2 separate regions of the Homo sapiens genome follow, and region 2 is linked to region 1. Evidence: promoter capture Hi-C in 16 types of primary human blood cells and fetal thymus (Javierre and others, 2016). All regions are on one chromosome and are shown on one strand. The core of a region is centred on a gene start or on the middle of the fragment in contact, and the rest is flanking DNA. Distances in the headings are between cores, read along the strand shown. Region 1 holds the start of OR4S2 (olfactory receptor family 4 subfamily S member 2). Region 2 has its middle 190 kb from the start of OR4A5.

Evidence for each region. Contacts are between HindIII fragments. The CHiCAGO score rates a contact against its expected background, and 5 or more counts as called.
Region 2: a contact is called between a fragment that was not itself captured here and the fragment with the promoter of OR4S2 in region 1, in 1 of 17 cell types (activated CD4 T cells). The highest score is 5.3, in activated CD4 T cells.

The regions. Positions count from the first base shown.
Region 1 is chr11:55,645,803-55,650,636 of GRCh38, forward strand. OR4S2 (olfactory receptor family 4 subfamily S member 2) reads left to right here and starts at 2,525. Exons shown (of 2, transcript NM_001004059.3): 1 at 2,525-2,748. The HindIII fragment of the contact is 13,020 bases long and covers 1-4,834 here.
Region 2 is chr11:54,898,315-54,903,148 of GRCh38, forward strand. No RefSeq gene overlaps it. Among named protein-coding and RNA genes, the nearest start is that of OR4A5, 190 kb to the left of the region's middle. The HindIII fragment of the contact is 342 bases long and covers 2,232-2,573 here.

The sequences.
Region 1 (4,834 bases), core at 1,275-3,774:
GTGGTTACATGAATATATACATGTGTCAAAAATCATCAAAGCATATACTTCAAAACATTGCACTTCCTTGTATGTAAATTTAATCTAGAGAAAACAATGTATTACAAAAAAGTGTTCATATCTATTGGTCTCAAGAAAAATATGGCTTTCAAATCCCACTTATAAGTGAGAACATGCCTTATTTGGTTTTCTGTTCCTGTGTTAGTTTGCTAAGGATGATGGCCTTCAGCTCCATCCATGCCCCGTCAAAGAACATGATCTCATTCTTTTTTATGGCTGCAGAGTATTCCATTGTGTATATGTATCACATTTTGTTTATCCAGTCTATCATTGATGGATATTTAGGTTGATTCCATGTCTTTGTTATTGTGAACAGTGTTTCAATGAACATATGTGTGCATGTGTCTTTATAATAGAATGATTTATATTCCTCTGGGTAGATACCCAGTAATGGGATTGTTGGATGGAATGGGATTTCTGCCTTTAGATCTCTGAGGACTCACCACATTGTCCTCCACAACGGATGAACTAATTTACACTCCCATCAATGGGATTATCTTTAAGAATGCTACGGCAAGTGAAAGAAGCAAGTTACAAAAAACTACATATTGTATTATTATTTTTATGTAAAAAAAAGTCCAGAGATGCCAATCTGTAGTAATAGAAAGTAGATTAGTGTTTGCCTAGAGCTGGGGGTGATGGTGTGAGAGAGGAATGAGGAGTGATTGCTAATGAGAATGGGGTTTCTTTTTGAGGGGACAAAGATGTTGTAAACTTAGATTGTGTTGATGGTTGCCCAACCCTGCTTATGAAACATCAATTAATTAAACTGTACACTTTAAATTGATGAACTACATAGTATATGAATCATATCGCAATAAAGCTATTATAATAAATGAATGTTAAATCTATTGACCGTTGCTGTGTATGTACTATTCTTATATCTTTTATTAATTTACTATCATTTTCCTATCACATGACATGTAGCTGTCTTTTTTAATCCAAGTGATAATTCTCATCAGATATCCTTCCTTTGCACACATTTCTGTTATAAAATATGAACATTAATATTCCATTATTTATATATTATATTTAGCATTTGTTCCAAAACATATTTTTAAACATCTCCTAGATCTCAAAGTACATTTTGCAAAGTAGGAATAGAAGATATACTGACTCGCCCCACTACTCATCTAAATAACTGAGCAGCAGAATAGGGATCTCCAAAGATGTTCACATCTTAGTCCTCAGAACTTATCAATATATTTTGTTACATGATAAGGTGATTAAGATTGTAGATAAAAATTAAGTTTGCTAGTCAGTTGACCTTAAAACAAAGATGTTATCGTGCACTATCCATGTGGGCTCAACGTATTCACAAGGTTTATTTAAAATGGGAAAGTGAAGCAGAATAAGTTAAATTTGAAGATGCTACACTGCCTGCTTTGGAGATGAAGGAAAGGGGCCATAAGGAAGCTGGTAGATTCTAGAAGCTGGAACAGAATGAGTTTTCCCCTACAGACTTCGGAAGGATTCATCCTTTCCAATGCCTTGATTTTAGCCCAGTGAGCCTCATTTTGGACTTCTCACCTGCAGAACTGTGAAATACTGACTTTGTATTGATTTAAGCCACTAAGTTTGTGGTAATTCATTGCAGCAGCAACAGGAAACTAACACACTAGCTTAATCATGATGAATGTTTCCACAAACCTGGGCATAATTGCTCTTTTACTTCCTACTCTTTATTTTTCACTCATTTCTTCTGCTAACTCCAGATAGTGAAAATATAAGTAGGATCTCTTGGACATTTTGGATGTTGTTTGAAATAAAGAAAAAGGTAAGATAAGGTAAGAAGAGTAAAGTAAAAAAGTCAAGCATGGGGAAAGAAACTAATAGAAATAGGAAGAGAAAAAGCAAGATTATTATTAGTTTTCGTGAGTCAACCTTAAGAATTTACAATATAAAAGTAAATGAATTAAATTCAACACCATACTTATTCCAAGCATAGGCCAAACATGAACCTTATCCCAGCTATTTCTCCATAAATCAGCATAGAATCAATTAAGAAGAAAAGCAATGTTCCCAAATAGCACAATCGAATATACTATTTTCTATTACAATATAGCTTTCAAGAAAGAACAATTACAATTCAATAAATAACATAAAACAGATATCTTAATATGTTATATCAAATATGGACTATTTAATGCATATAGTAAAGCATATTAATTCAAAAACAAGGTTTAGAATGATAAAATTATTACTTCTCTTGGCTGAATTGCTTTGGATTAGGGCTATAGTCGTTAATATGAGAATTGATCGGTTTTTGTATTTAGCAACAATTTTTAAAATTTAATTTTAAAAAATTGAACAGACACTAGAATTAAAGTTCATTGGTAGGGCTGCAATTTGATTTTGACTATGGAGGAAGACTTTGGGGAAAAGCTGTCTCCAAGGTCATTTATCATTTTGCATCTTCCTCTTTAAATAGACCTGTAAGAATAGAGAAAACAGCATTTATTGTCAAAGACCCTGTGAAATGGCAGGTATCATTAGGTGAGAAAACCAGGAACAACAAAGACTCATTTCTACCAGCCTTTCAGTTTGGGGGGTCAGGTATTTTCCGGTACTAATTATTCACAAAGGAATTCCCTAGGCATCACTGTTACTTTACCTTGGGAAGCTGCACCCAAATTAACTCAAGAAGAGATAGAAACATAAAGTGAACTCAAGCTCTGGAAAATACTGGTGAGATTTTTTTTTCTTTTCAAACGAATACAGAATATTTGTGGAAAAAGATAATTAAATTGTTAGATTTTGAACATTTATAAAATAATGGAAAAATATTGTTCTCTGAAATACAGAGAGAATGAAATTATTAAAATCATGATAGTAAGATAGTAACATGTACCTAAACATGACTGTGAGGAAGGGTAGGATGGACACAAATAAGAAAATGTCAATAATTTCAAAGGAAAGTGAGTCATTATGCCCAACATGCCCAGATAAAGGAGGAAGGCATCCTTGTGATGGATATTGGCTTAAGGAGAGAAACAGCAAGATGTTACTGCATCAGTTGGAGTCAAGAGAGGCCATGATTCAGAAGGTTAACAGCCTTTACTAGGATGCACATTCTGATAAATGGAACTTTAGATCTCAATCCTGCAATTAAGATAAATGAATACCTGAATAAAATAGATTGGTGAATGAAAAAAAAAATTCCTCTAGAACCTTGTGATATGGACGGTAGGGGAAAAAATCCTCAGGCTTGTGTGCAAAAGCCCAGTTTCTTCTAGATGAGAGCAAAGCAACATAAATAATTGTTGCTCAAAACTGCTATGTTGTGAGCTTCCTTAAGTTGAGGGGCTCTCTTAGTGGAGGATGGTATTTTTCTTTTAATTCAGCAGGATAACTGAAGAGGAATGAGCATGTAAAAGCAGGGGATGTGCTTGAGACTGTATCTAAATCATATTACTATTACTCTTACAATCATTATTTTGTAATGCACAAGAGATAGCACACCTGTAATGACTACTGTGCCAACTCTAACATGAATACCTGAAGAAACACAATCCTATAGATTCCCAAAAGCTGGAAGTATTAGGCACGACTTCACTGCATAAGGATAGCTGAGAGCACAGAGTTTAGTAGGAGTTGTCAGCATTCAGCTGGATGGATCTTGAGAGGATCTACAGGTCTCTGCTAGACCACCTGTAATTGGAGGGATCATTTACACCTGCGGTTGATTAGCGAAAGAATCCTAAAAGCTCCTTTAATCAAAACTATTACAGATACCCTTTTCCATCCATGTACCAATGACCCCATTGTAGTGCCTGAAATTTCACCAATGAATATTCATCCATTTAGATAAATGTCATTTTCCTAAACCCATTAAAATTGTCATTCAGTGATGATCTCTTCCAGAAATATAAATCGACCAAATTGGGAGAATGAATATGGCCAGAATAAAACTTGAAAGATTAGAAAGATGTATGAAGCAATGTTGACATTAAGGGACAGTCTTCTCTTTTTTACACCCATTTTCTTCGTTTCAGTTAATAGAAAAATGTTTAAAAATACAAAGCAAAGTCAGTCCTGGAAAATCCTAAAGTATTCTGAGTTTGCACATGGAGAAATTACATAAGACTTCACTCCCTCTCCTTTCAAATCAAACAGGTCTTGCTTTGTCTCTAGAAGTTTCTTTTATTGCTTTACCTTATTTCTGCCTTCCTATCAGGGTTTTATGAATATTTCATACTGACAGAAGTGATTTAAGTTCACGGCTGAAATAACTATTAATGTGATATGTAACAGTGAAATTGAAACTGTCATTTCACAAATGGGATAAGAGAATTTCTGTTAAGTTAAATAATTTACCTTGGGGGTTACAGTAGTATCATTTTAGAATCAATTTTGTGTAATTTTGCTCCTCTTTCTATTACCTCACACTACATCTTGACTATCAGGGCTCGAGACCACACTGGTGGAGGTGCATACATCATGTGCACAAAGATAGAGTTTCATGAGAAGAACTTGCAAAGGCAAGAGTGGTTAAACTTGCAGAGAAATTGCAGAATATTTGTGAGTTGATGTGATAATCAGGCATGGCAGTATTCAAAAGGTGAAATGTGGGCGTATGTTTTCACTTATGGGTCAAAAATAAAGCAATCATTTCCAGATATTTGCCAGTAGATAACATAGATGTTACCATATCCCAAAATACAGAAGTTGTTTCAAAACTCAGTGTCGTATAAAAAATAAAAACTAAATAAAGTTTAGAAACAGCTAAATAAACATTAATAAAAGGTGAGAGAAGAGAGGCATGTGGTAACAT
Region 2 (4,834 bases), core at 1,153-3,652, 750 kb before region 1:
ATCCTATCTGAGAAATTGATTTTTGACTTGTGCTTTCAACTTGCAGAGTTAAATCTTTCTTTGGATTCAGCCATTTGCAAACACTGTTTTTGCTGATGCTGCGAATGGAAGTTTTGGAGCTCATTGAGTCCAATGGTGAAAAAGTGAATATCCCAGGATAAAACTAGAAAGAAGCTACCTGAGAAACCCCTTTGTGAATGGTGCATTCATCTCACAGAGTTACAACTTTCTTTTCATACAGCAGTCTGGAAAAACCATTTTGGCAGAATCCATGAAGGGATATTTGGGAGTGCAGTGAGCCCTATGGTGAAAAAGGAAATACCTTCAGATAAAAACTAGAAAGAAGCTTTCTCAGAAAGCACTTTGTTATGTGTGCATTAAACTCTCAGAGTTACATCTTTCTTTTCATTCAGCTGTTTGGAAACACCGTTTTCATAGAATCTGCAAAGGGTTATCTGGGAACACATTGAGGCCTGTGGTGAAAAAGGAAATATCTTCAGATAAAAACTCTAAAGAAGCTTTCTGTGAAACTGCTTTGTGTTGTGTGCATTGTTCTCACAGATTTAAAACATTCTGTGGGTTCAGCAGTTTGCAAACAATGTTTTTTTCCTTTCTGCAAATGGACATTTGGGAGCTCATTCAGGCCAAAAGCAAAAATGCAAATATCCCAGGATAAAAACTAGAAAGAAGCTCTTTGAGAAACTGCTTTGTGATGTTTGCATTCATTTTGCATAGTTAAAGCTTTCTTCTAATTCAGCAGTTTGGAAACACTGTTTTCATAGAATATGCAAAGGTATATCTGGGAGCACATTGAGGCTTAGGGTGAAAAAGGAAATATCTTCAGATTAATCTGGAAAGCTTTCCGAGAAACTGATTTGGGATATATGCATTCACCTCACAGAGTTAAGCCTTTCTGTGGATTCAGCCATTTGCAAACACTGTTTTTGTACTTTCTGAGAATGGATTTTGGGGAGTTCATAGAGACCAATGGCAAAAAAAGGCAATATCCAAGGATAAAAATTAGAAGGAACTATCTGAGAAACCGCTTTGTGATGTGTGCATTCACTTCACAGAATTAAACTTTTTTATTCATTCAACATTTTGGAAACTCTGTTTTCGTAGAATGTAGTAGGTGATATCTGGCAGCACATAGAGGTCTATGGTGAAAAAGGAAATATCTTCAGATAAAAAACTAGAAACAAGAATTCTGAGAAACTGCTTTATGATGTGTTCATTCATCACACAGAGTTAAAACTTTCTTTGGATACAGCAGGTTAGAGATGATCCTTTGTCCATTTTGTGAATGGAAATTTAGGAACTTATAGAGGCCAATGTAAAAAAAGGGAATATCCCAGTATAAAAAGGAGATAGAAGCTATCTGAGAAACCACTTTGTGATGTGTACATTCTTCTCAAAGAGTTAACCCTTTCTTTGGATTTGGCAACTTGGAAACACTGTTTTTGTAGAATCTGTGAAGCAATATATTGGATCTCATTGAGGACAAGGCAAAAAACGGAATATCCTAGGATAAAAGCTAGAAAGAAGCATTCTGTGAATCTGCTTTGTGATGTGTGCATTCACCTCTCACAGTAAAACCTCTTTTTATTCAGCAGTTTGGAAACACTGTTTTGGTAGAATCTGCTAAGGGATAATTGGGAGCTCATTGAGGTCAAAGGCAAAAAAGGTAATATCCCAGGATTAATACTAGAAAGAACTCTTTGAGAAACCACTTTGTAATGAGTGCATTCATTTCACAGAGTTAAACATTTCTTTTCATTCAGCAGTTTGGAAAAACTGTTTTCATAGAATCTGTGCGGGGATGTTTGGAAACGCAATGGAGCCTATAATGAAAAAGGAAATATAACTTCAGATTAAAAGTAAAAAGAACTTTTCTGAGAAACTGCTCTCTGATATGTGCATTCATATCACAGAGTTCAACCTTTCTTTGGATTCAGCAGTTTGGAAATAGTGTTTTTGTAGAATCTGCAAAGGGACATTTGGGAGTTCGTTGAGGCCAAAGGTGAAAAAGTGAAAAGCCCAGGATAAAAACTAGAAGGAATTATATGTGAAACCACTTTGTGATATGTGCATTTATCTCTCAGAGTTAAACCTGTCTTTTCATTCAGCAGTTTGGAAACACTTTTGGTAGAATCTTGGATGGGATATTTCAGAGCGCATTGAGGCCTATGGTGAAAAAGGAAATGTCTTTAGATGAAAACTAGAAAAAAGCTTTCTGAGAAACTGCTGTGCAATATCTGCATTCATCTCACAGTATTAAAACTTGCTTTTGATTCATCAGTTTGGAGAAACTGTTTTTGTCCATTCTGTGAATGGACATTTAAGATCTGATTGAAACCAATGGCAAAAAAGTGAATATCCCAGGATACAATGTAGAAGAAAGATATCTGACAAACCGATTTGTGATGTGTGCATTCATCTCACAGAGTTAAACTTGTTTTATATTCAGCAGTTTGGAAACACTGTTTTTCGAAATCTGTGAAGGGATATATGGGAGTTCTTGGAGGCCTGTGGTGAAAAAGGAAATATCTTTAGTTGAAAACTAGAAAGAAGCTTTCTGAGAAACTGCTTTGTGATGTGAGCATTCATCTCACAGAGTTAAACCATTCTTTGGATTCAGCAGTTTGGAAACACTGTTTTTGTAGAATCTGAAAAGGGATATTTGTGAGCTAAGTGAGGCCAAGGAAAAAAAAAATACTATCCCAAAATAAAAATTAGAAGGAAACTATCTCAGAAACCACTTGTTATGTGTGCATTTGTGTCGCATACTTAAAATTTTCTTCTCATTCAGTAGTATGGAAACACACTTCTGTAGAGTCTGCGAATGGATATTTGGGAGCTCATTGGGGTCAAAAGTGAAAAAGCCAATATCCCAGGATAAAAACTAGAATAAGCTATCTGAGAATCCACTTTGTGATGTGTGCATTCATCTTACAGAGTTAAAAGTTTCTTTTCATTTAGCAGTTTGGAAACACTTTTTGGGAGAATCTGCAAAGGGATATATGGGAGCTCATTGAGGCTTATGGTGAAAAAGTAAATATCTTCATATAAATAGTAGAAAGAAGCTTTCTGAGAAACTGCTTTCTGATGTGTGCTTTCATGTCACAGAGCTAAACATTTCTTTGGATACCGTATTTTGAAAACACCAATTTCTGTCCATTCTATGAAAGAACATTTGGCAGCTCATTGAGGCCAATGATGAAAAAGCAAATATCCCAGGATGAAAACTAGAAAGAACCTCTCACCGCATTGTGATGTGTGCATTCATCTCACAGAGTTAAACATTTCTTTGGATTCAGCAGTTCGGAAACACTGTTATTTTAGAATCTGCAAAAGGATGAATGGATACATAACAAAGTGGTTTCTCAGATACTTTCCTTCTACTTTTTACCCTGGGATATTTGCTGTTTAGCCTATGGCCTCAATGATCTATCAAATATCTCGTCACAGATTCTACTGAAACAGAGTGTCCAAACTGCTGAATCCAAGGAAATGTTGAAATCTCTGAGATGAATACACACATCACAAAGTGGTTTCTCAGATAGCTTCCTTCTAGTTTTTATCCTGGGATATTCACTTTTTCTCTGATGGCCTGATGGCCACAATGAGCTCCCAAATATGTCTTCACACATTCTACAACAACAATGTTTCCAAACTGTTGAATCCAAAGAAAGTTTTAACGCTGTGAGATGAATGCACACACCACAAAGCAGCTTCTCAGAAAGCTTGTTTCTAGTTTTCAACTGAAGATATTTCCTTTTTACTATAAACCTCAATGTGCTCTGAAAAATCCCTTGCACTTTCTACAAAAACAGTTTTTCCAACCTGCTGAATGAAAATAAAAAATTAACTCTGTGAGATGAATGCACACATCACAAAGCAGTTTTTCAGATAGCTTCCTTCTAGTTTTTATCCTGGGATATTCGCTTTTTTGCCATTGGCTTCAATTAGCTGCAAAATGTCTATATGCAGAGTGGAGAAAAACAGAGTTTCTAAACTACTGAATCCACAGAAAGGTTTAACTGTATGAGATGAATGCACATGTCACAAAGCCATTTCTCAGAAAGCTTCTTTCTAGTTTTTATCTGAAGATATTTCCTTTTTCACCATATGCCTCAATGCACTCCTATAATACCTTCACAGGTTCTACAAAAACAGTGTTTCCAACTGCCGAATGAAAAGACAGGTTTAAGTATGTGAGAAGAAAGCACTCATCACAAAGCAGTTGCTCAGATTGCTTTCTTCTAGTTTTTCTCCAGGGATATTCACTATTTTGCCATTGGCCTCAACGTGCACCCAAATATCCAGTCACAGAATTGACAAAAACAGTGTTTCCATTCTCCAGAATGAAAAGAAAGGTGCAACTCTCGGATATGAATGGACACATCACAAAGTGGATTCCCAGATAGCTTCCTTCTAGTTTTTACCCTGGGATATTGGCTTTTTCTGCTATGGCCTCAATGAGCTCCCAACTATTGTTTTGCAGATTCTACAACAACAGTGTTTCCAAACTGCTGAATCCAAGGAAATGTTGAAATCTGTGAGATGAATGCACACATCACACAGCAGTTTGTCAGAAAGCTTCTTTCTAGTTTTGATCTGAAGTTATTTCCTTTTTTACCATAGGCCTCAGTGTGCTCCAAAATATACCTTCGCAGATTCTACCAAAACAATGTTTCCAAACTGCTGAATGAAAAGAAAGATTTAACTCTGTGAGATGAATGCACACATCACAAAACAGTTTTTCAGATGGCTTCCTTCTAGTTTTTATCCTGGGATATTAGCTTTTTTGCCATTGGCCTCAATTAGCTGCCAA